3 separate regions of the Homo sapiens genome follow, and all the other regions are linked to region 2. The links are contacts of gene promoters, found by promoter capture Hi-C in blood cells and fetal thymus (Javierre and others, 2016). All regions are on one chromosome and are shown on one strand. The core of a region is centred on a gene start or on the middle of the fragment in contact, and the rest is flanking DNA. Distances in the headings are between cores, read along the strand shown. Region 1 has its middle 12 kb from the start of SNX12. Region 2 holds the start of ITGB1BP2 (integrin subunit beta 1 binding protein 2). Region 3 overlaps OGT (O-linked N-acetylglucosamine (GlcNAc) transferase).

Region 1 (2,811 bases), core at 200-2,699, 250 kb after region 2:
AAATGAAGAGATGTCTATACAAGGCAGGAAAATGCTAGAGACAGAGTAAGAGATTCAGGCACATCTGGTTAGTTGTCCAGTCTTTTTCTTTTTTAAAAATATCAGGCCAGGTAAATCTCCCTTGGATGTCAAATTGGCCATTTTGGCACATTAACTGGGCCAGGCAAGAATCCTAAATCCAAACCCTCTTACCCATTAACACTGAGGAGAAGCATACTTTTCTTTGATAAGGAATTCTAATTTACATGGGTATTTGCATGTTTACCACTAATTAATCCCCTTTATCTATAGTGCAGAAAGGGCTTAACCTTATGCTGGAACCTGGGGGACAGAGGCTAACGAAAAATTTTGAACATAGCTAGACCCAAAAGAAGTCTAAATCTTCACATTCCAAAGATGCCTTATCTACCCTTTGACCCATTCTTTGAGACAAGGAATTAAGCCAGTAAAGGTGGGAGAGGTGGATAACATTCAGGCTTCTCTGGAGTTGATAGTTATCCTACATGAGATACTTCTATGTTGAAGATATTCCTACTTCTATGTTGAAATATATGCTGTAATAATTTAAGTAAAATTACTTTCTTTTGTGGAAATGTAGAACAGCTGCTCACTGAAATGGATATTTCTTCATATCCTTGAAAACTGTTGAGTCACCCTTAGTATTCTCTTCTTAGATATAATAAGTTCTAATTTTTCCTTACTTGGCTCATTTTTAACCCTTTTATCTTTTTATTATTCTGAAATCTCTCCAAGGCCCTCACATGTCCTCAAGTTGTAGAGTCTTAAATTGGACAACACTTTAATTACAGCCTGAAGGTTAGGTAGTTGTTATTCCATTTATATATCTTAGTATTTGAGTTTACTTTTGAAATATAAAGTCTTAGTGACTAATTTAGCATGTGGTTCTCTGCCACTCCCTTCCTGACCACCCACCACCCCTCATTCTTATCTTCTTTTTTTACCTTGTTTGTACAAAAACCAGTTGTTGCCTATTTTATTTCTTCTGTCCATACCCTGTCTGTCTATGCATTTAAAAACAGAGAACTCATTCCTTATAAAACAGACAAACCAGGGATAATTGTCAACATCAAAAAAGAATTCTTTAAATCACTGCAGGCTTCCTTTAAATAGGTGTTTCCTGTGGTGGTTTTAAGTGTTTTTATATAGGTCATCAACTGCTTGATATAAAGAAACTAAAGATAAAGGGTTAAGAGGCAGTGCCAGTTGAAGAACAGTTAGAAATTGGGATAAAACAGTAGTTCTTAGGTAAACAGTAAAATACATTCAGATTCACAGAAAAAAAATATGTATATATATATTTTTTGAGATGGAGTCTCACAGTGTTGTCCAGGCTGGAGTGCAGTGGCGTGATCTCAGCTCACTGCAATCTCTGCCTCCCAGGTTCAAGCGATCCTCCTGCCTCAGCTTCCCGAGTAGCTGGGACTACAAGCGTGGCACCACCATACCCGGCTAATTTTTGTATTTTTAGTAGAGACGGGGTTTCACCACGTTGGCCAGGCTGGTTTCGAACTCCTGAGCTCAAGTGATCTGCCTGCCTCGGCCTCCCAAAGTGCTGGGATTACAGGCGTAAGCCACTGTACCTGGCCTGATTTATGTATTACTTTTCAAGAGAATGTTATACCAATAATATTTTTTGTCTAGATACAGTGAACTTTTCATCATCTGTACTAATGGAGGCATGTACATTTTAATTTTGTTAGGCATTTTTGTTGTAACATTTAAATATAGGGATGTCTAATCATAAAATTTAAAAATATTTCATAATTTCATCATACTGAAGACTCAGGAAGATCTGAAAAGAAACAGAAAGAGTACCAGACCTGGAATAGAAACCTGACTTCTAAAATTGGCTATATAGCTAGCTATAGGACCTTAGTTGAATTGCTTCACCATTTTAGGCCTGTTTTCTGAACTATACAATGAGGGATTTCGACTAAATGAGGGATTTTGACCAAATGATCTCTGAGGTATCTTAAATCTCTAGCTTTTTATGATTTCCCACCCTTGCCAAGGAGTTGAGTAAACATTGGAGGTGATGCCACCAAAAAAGTGAAAGCACAATTTTTCCTTTATATGATGGAGTTTGCTGTAGTGTAGTTTTCTCTTTCAGAAATGAACGATTATCCTGATTAGATTTTGTTTGCCCACATCCTGTTATATCAAGTCATGAGTATACCCCCATTGAAACTCAGAGTTGATTTGGTTTACAGTTGTTCTAATTGTATCCTAAGTCTTCTAGCTAAAATTTTAAAATGAAGTAGTCACCCCATGGCGTTATTTATTTATTTTTTGAGAGGGAATCTTGCTCTGTCGCTCAGGCCAGAGTGCAGTGGTGTGATCTTGGCTCACTGCAACCTGTGCCTCCCAGGTTCAAGCGATTCTCCTGCCTCAGCCTCCAGAGTAGCTGGGACTACAGGGGCATGCCACCACGCCCGGCTAATTTTTGTATTTTTAGTAGAAGCGGGGTTTCACCATATTGGCCAGGCTGGTCTCAAACTCCTGACCGTATGATCTGCCCACCTCGACCTCCCAAAGTGCTGGGATTGATTACAGGTGTGAGCCACTACGCCCAGCCCCCATGGAGCTATTTTTATTTAAAACACATACATTATAACTCTATTGATCTGATTACAAAAGTGCCTATTTTGTTAAAATGTTTTATTGTGATAAAAATTCAAAAATTATTAATGTTAGCCAACAAAATTCAAGCAAAACATAAATGTGTAAAGTAAAAAGTGAAAGATTTTTCCTTAGTCCCTCTCACCACTCCCATTCTCCAAGAATAACTTA
Region 2 (3,085 bases), core at 586-3,085:
CTACTCAGCCTATCTATACCCAGTCATCCCTCAGCCATATGCTTGAGCCCCTCAAAACTCTCACTCACAGCATCACATCCTGGGTTCTGGCAGCTGGAACCAGTCCGGATCAGACTGTCAAGTCCTGGGCAAGGGAAACAGAGTCAGGAACTTATCCATCCCCCCACTCAATTGCCACTTCCACTAAATTCCAGTCTATGAAGTTGATCCTACTAAAGACCCACCTACCTGCCCCAGGTTCCTGGTCTAATTCCTTCTGTTCCAATGCCATTTCCAGGGCTTGGGATATATTTAGCGGCAGCAGCTTCAGAGGCAACTCTGACCTAGGGGTTAAGGGTGGTGATTTAGTTCTGACCCATTAGCTATGATTGCTAGCTCCAACACTCCCACCGATGGTAATGGAATTAAAGAAGCCTGGTGAAAGTGAGGCAGAGTTGGAGAGGTTGGGTAGCAACCCCATTGCCAATTTTCATCTCTGTGGACATCCCAAATACCTGAACCCTAGAGAAATCCCCAGCACTTCTCTTACCCATCTACTCAGTTGCTCTAAACCTAACCACTTTTCTCTGCAGAACTGAGTCATATCCTCTTCCTCTTTATCTAATCGTGGACCTAATATGACTTCCTTCTGTTGCTCTTATTATTCCCACAAAATTTGGGAAGTCTCCTGGCTGCCAATAATACAATACATCCTTTTCTTGATATGAGATTTATCTTAAAGTTCTTTTCTAGAAAGAGAAGTCATTCTCAACAATCCCTTTTGTGTTATACACTAAGGATGTATTTGTGAGGGGCTATCTACTCTGTTGATTCAGGTATCTATCCCATCATCCCACACCACCTTAGAGGAAAGGGCGTTATTTCCAGACACAAATTTCCCCTAAGGCACAGGATATACACCATCCAAACCCTGACATCTGGCCCTCCTCACATCCCTGGTCCCTAGTTCCCAGTCCTCAATGACCCATTAATCACTCCTAGGAAGCTACATGAAAATAAGAAAAGTCCAGGGGCCTCCTCCTCTTTACTTGGGCCTCTCCCGGCGCAAGGTCTCTGCTGACTTTGGAATCACATTCAGAGGTTTTTGCTCCTGAAGTGAACTGCTTGTAGCAGGGCCTTCAGGTTGAGGGGCCTCAGGAAGCTTCTCAGCACAGTGTGGTCCCATAGTACAGCCCTAGTATAGATAAGGAGATAGGATTAGGGATAGAATCCTTCTATTGGGGGCAGAATCCAAGTACATAAATAATTTACCTTGATGTTTAAGAACTCAGAGAAATCTACAGTTCGCTTTCGGCAGCAGGACCAACCCTGATAACAAGAGACCCAGATCAGCTTAGCTTCCTGGGTATTATCTCTTCTGGGAAATGCTCTTGCTAACCCCCCTCACCTACTCCTCACCTTAAGTGCATCATGGAAGATTGGGACCCCAGGGTGATGGCAACAGGAATCTGTGGACATCAGTAGAAGTTATCAAGGAAGGGAAGATAACTATACCAAGTATCATTTTTCACCTCTTCCCCGGGTTTCTATTTATGGTTTCTTCCCATATAATGTGAAGAAAAAAAAAAAAGCCAGCAAAGGCTGTAAGATCACTCAGACCAATTAAACTAGGGCAGGTAGTTTCTTTCCCCGCTCCTCAAACACACTGCCCCCCAGCTGACCAGTCCCCAACACCCACACAGAGCCCCTGGCCAGGTCAGGATTCTTTACTCACCAGGAAGGTTGGTATTAGGGTCAAAGTGCTGCCCACAGCCTTTGTTACGACAGAGTAGAGACATGGAAGCGTTGGTTGAATGATTACTGAAAGGGTATTTCAAGGAGTCTGGCTGCCGAATGGGGAACACCTCTTAGTCTGGAGGCTTTTAGCTGCCTGGAAGGGCCAGCTGTTTCTATCTTTAGTTCAGGAGGCGTACACCTCCTAACATGGGCAAGGGAACTTCAATTCGTCTTTCCAGCCAATAGGAAAGAGCTCGGGGGCATTTTAGCTCTGAGGCTCAGGAAAAAAGGATCAGGCAGAGTAGGGCTTTGAACTTGGGTGAGGTCAGCTCACCACTACTGAGACAGTTTTAGATTCACCACAGCAATTCCAAGCCTTGGACACAGCAGCAGCTGCTAAGAAACAAATACCAATTTTGAGACCCCCCCCGCGCCCCCAGCTCGATGAGGATTAAGCCCATTTTCTTCCTCTTTCAGAGGGGCAGCTTTCCTCCATCATTACTTCCATGTAGTATCAATAGCGCTAATCCTTGCCAACCCCTCCAGCCATTTGATGCACCTCATCCCCACCTCCTCCCCATGTTTGTCTAGATCAATACTGTAATCCAAAGGTCATAAAGGATTACCTTTATAGAGTCTACTGCTCATCTCCTAAGATAACTCCCCTCCCTCCTTTCCCCTTCAAAAACACCACAGAAAATTAAAAGGCTTAAAATGTATTTTAATAGGTTGATGCTGCATTACTGCTCCATTTTTCAGAAAAACTCCAAATATATGAGACAAATCAAACACAGTACACCAATGAAAAAAAAAATGCACAGCATGACTACCTAAGATAGGCGAGTCTAAGAGCTACTGTCAGACCTTCAGTATACAGTAACCCTGTTCCCAAGATTGTACTAGGCCTATCAAGAAAAGCTGTGAACAGCAACATCATAGACACAAAAGGGTCATTCCTGGGTGTCCTCACCCAAGAAAAAGATGGAGGCAAGTTAACACAAGATTTTTTTTTAAAGATACACTAAAATGAAAATCTCTAAGAGAAAATGTCTTCTTTAGGACATGAAGGGGTAATATATGGGGTATAACAGAACCGTATGTACGCTGCCTGTGACCTTTGTGGACGTTTGCCTGAATTCTCACCTGGGAGTGAATGGAGCAATGGGGCTAAGGTCATTGGGGGATGTTTGGTTTTTGTGGTGTATGTGGCAGTTTCTCTGGGGCTGGGGGAGTGTAAGGATAAGAAGCAAGTGAGGTTGGGCACGGTGGCTCACCCCTGTAATCCCAGCATTTTGGGAGGCCGAGGTGGGTAGATCACGAGGTCAGGAGTTCAAGATCAACCTGGACAAGCTTGAACCCGGGAGGCAGA
Region 3 (3,101 bases), core at 546-3,045, 250 kb before region 2:
CTGGGATTACAGGCACACGCCACCGCACCGCACCCAGCTGTTTTTTTTTTCTTTTGTATTTTGAGTAGAGATGGGGTTGCACCATGTTGGCCAGGCTGGTCTCGAACTCCTGACCTCAAGTGATCCACTCGCCTCAGCCTCCCAAAGTGCTGAGATTACAGGGGTGAGCTACCGCACCCGGCCTAAAAGTTTAATTTAAATCTCCATTTTTATTACAATTTGTTGAAGTAAGAAGGTCAGCTTCCCAAAGTTTGAATTTTGCTGACTGCATCCCTATGGTGTCCTTTAACATGTTTCCTGTCCCGTGTATATCTCCTGTAAATTGGTAGGTAGAACCAGAAGCTTAATTAGGTTTGTGTTCTTTTCTCTTTGTGCAAGACTACTTCACTGGTGAAATTGTTTACCACAAGGTACTTAATACCTGATTGTATCTCGTTTTTGTCACTGATAAATGCTTTAACTTTTTTTTTATTTTTTGAGATGGAGTCTTGCTCTGTCGCCCAGGCTGGAATGCAATGGTGCAATCTCAGCTCACTGCAACCTCCACCTCCCAGGTTCAAGAGATTCTCCTGCCTCCGCCTCCTGAGTAGCTGGGATTACAGGCTCCTGCTACCATGCCTGGCTAATTTTTGTATTTTTAGTAGAGATGGGGTTTTGCCATGTTGGCCAGGCTGGTCTCGAACTCCTGACCTCAGGTGATCCACCTGCCATGGCCTCCCGAAGTGCTGGGATTACAGGCGTGAGCCACCAAGCCCGGCCTAATAAATGCTTTCACTATTAATGGTGATATTCTATCATTCCTTCTTCACTTATTAGCTAGAATGCTTTTATAAAGAAAAGCTTCCCCCATCAACTATTGGGTTACTCTATGGTCTAGTTCATACAGGAGAGGGAAGACATATGCTTTATTCTTTTAATTTTTAAATTTAAAGTTGATATATAATTGTGTATATTTATGGCATACAATGTGATGGTTTGATCCACGTATACATTTTAGAAAGAGTCAACCAAGCTAATTAACATAGCCATCACCTCACTAACTTATTTTTTTGTGGTTGAGGACATTAAAAACCTATTCTTTTTGCAATTTTGAAATATACATTATTAACAACTGTGGTCACCATGCAGTACTACAGATCACTAAAACTTATTCCTCCAGTCTAACTGAAACTTTGATCAATATCTCCCTTTTCCCCATCCCTCCTCCACCCCCCCAAGCCTCACCACCCTTCTACTCTCTGTTTCTATGAAATCAACTTTTTTAGATTCCACAAATAGGTGACATAATACAGTATCTACTTTCTGTGCCTGGTTTATTTCACTTAGCATAAAGCACAGATAACAAAAGCAAAAATATGCAATGAGATTGCATCAAACTAAAAAGCTTCTGCACAGTAAAGGAAACAATTACACAGAGTGAATAGGCAACCCCGGATTAGGAGAAAGCATTTGCAAACTATACAACTGATAAAGGGTTAAGAAGCTCAACTCAGTAGCAAATACGCCCATTAAAATACGGGCAAAGGATCTAAACAGACATTTCTCAAAAGAAGAGGTACAGGCCAGACACAGTGGCTCATGTCTGTAATCCTATCACTTGGGGAGACCAAGGTGGGAGGATCACTTGAGCCCAGGAGTTCGAGGTTGCAGTGAGCTATTATGGCGCCACTGCACTCCAGCCTGGGCAACAGAGCAGGACCTCATCTCAAAAAAACAAAACAAAACAAAACAAAAAAAACAAATGGCAAGCAGATATATAAAAAATATGCTCAACATCACTAATCATCAAGGAAATGCAAAATAAAACCATGAGTTAGCATCTCACACTTGTTAGTATAGCTATCATCAAAAGGACGAATAATAACAAGTGTTAGTGAGGATGTAAAGAAAGGGAAGCCTTGTAACTGATGGGGGAAGTATAAATTGGCACAGCCATTTTGGGAACTAGTATAGAGGTTCCTCAAAAACTTTATTCTTCTCTTTTTAACCAGTTTTCCAAATTAATTGTTCCTTGTAAGTCTTCCAAAGATGACCAATGAATTTTTTAGCATAATTATAAGCTCATAGATTTAAACATACTTGATAAGTTTTAGTATATTTCAGTTATTATTCCTATTGATGCTCAAGTCTGCATCTTTAGCCAGTGGGAGCCTCCTCAAGTTGCTTCCTGAGTCCTTTTGATGCAAAGTAATATGTCAAAGCTTCCTTGCTTTCTGGTATGACAAGACATTCCAAAAATTTTTTTTAAATTCCTGCCCCAGACCTGGAATCTGCCTTTTCACCAAGAAGCCCTGCTTCTTTAAAGCCCATTTATAAAAATCATTTTTAATTACTAAAGTACATTTTTTTTGAGACAGGGTCTCACACCATCACCCAGGCTGGAGTGCAGTTGCATGATCACAGCTCACTGCAGACTCAAACTCCCATCTCAGCCTCCCCAGTAGCTGTGTGTGTGTCACCACGCATAGCTACTTTTTGTATTTTTTGTAGAGACAGGGTCTTACTATGTTGCCCAGGCTGGTCTCAAACTACTAGGCTCAAGCAATCCTCCCACCTCAGCCTCGCAAAGTGCTGGATTACAGGTGTGAGCCACAGCACGCAGCCTAAAGTACATTTTCAACACAAAATTGGAAACTGCCATACCATGTACTATCCAGCAAATGCTGCAATAAAGATGTTTCTCAACTTAGGATGGGGTTATGTCCCGATACACCCATCATAAGTTGAAAATATCTTAAGTCAAAATGCATCTGTAACACTTAGTGAACATCCTAGCTTAGCCTAATTTTTTTTTTTTTTTTTTTTTTTTTTTTGAGACAGGGCCTCACTTTGTCACCCAGGCTGGAGTGCAGTGGTGCAATCTTGGTTCACTGCAACCTCCAGCTCCCAGGCCCAAGCAATCCTCCCACCTCAGCCCTACAAATGGCTGGGACTACAGGAGCACACTGCCACACCCAGCTCATTTTTGTAGAGACAGGGTCTCGTTATGTTGTCCAGGCTGGTTTTCAACTCCTAAGCTCAAGCAATCTGCCCGCCTCGGCCTCCCAAAGCACTGGGATCACAGATGTGAGCTATCACACCTGGCCCGGCTAGTCTCATTT

Evidence for each region. Contacts are between HindIII fragments. The CHiCAGO score rates a contact against its expected background, and 5 or more counts as called.
Region 1: a fragment that was not itself captured here is called in contact with the fragment with the promoter of ITGB1BP2 in region 2 in 2 of 17 cell types (non-activated CD4 T cells and naive CD4 T cells); the score reaches 5.7 in non-activated CD4 T cells.
Region 3: a fragment that was not itself captured here is called in contact with the fragment with the promoter of ITGB1BP2 in region 2 in 1 of 17 cell types (fetal thymus); the score reaches 5.9 in fetal thymus.

What each region holds. Positions count from the first base shown.
Region 1 is chrX:71,054,892-71,057,702 of GRCh38, reverse strand. No RefSeq gene overlaps it. Among named protein-coding and RNA genes, the nearest start is that of SNX12, 12 kb to the left of the region's middle. The HindIII fragment of the contact is 5,418 bases long and covers 1-2,811 here.
Region 2 is chrX:71,300,500-71,303,584 of GRCh38, reverse strand. ITGB1BP2 (integrin subunit beta 1 binding protein 2) reads right to left here and starts at 1,835. Exons shown (of 11, transcript NM_012278.4): 1 at 1,715-1,835; 2 at 1,399-1,448; 3 at 1,252-1,308; 4 at 1,029-1,174; 5 at 229-323; 6 at 69-124. The coding sequence starts at 1,778. It overlaps NONO (non-POU domain containing octamer binding), which reads right to left. Exons shown (of 12, transcript NM_007363.5): 12 at 2,417-3,085. RefSeq lists an enhancer at 1-37. The HindIII fragment of the contact is 1,925 bases long and covers 1,144-3,068 here.
Region 3 is chrX:71,549,008-71,552,108 of GRCh38, reverse strand. All of the region lies in intron 5 of OGT (O-linked N-acetylglucosamine (GlcNAc) transferase), which reads right to left. Among named protein-coding and RNA genes, the nearest start is that of OGT, 17 kb to the right of the region's middle. The HindIII fragment of the contact is 817 bases long and covers 1,387-2,203 here.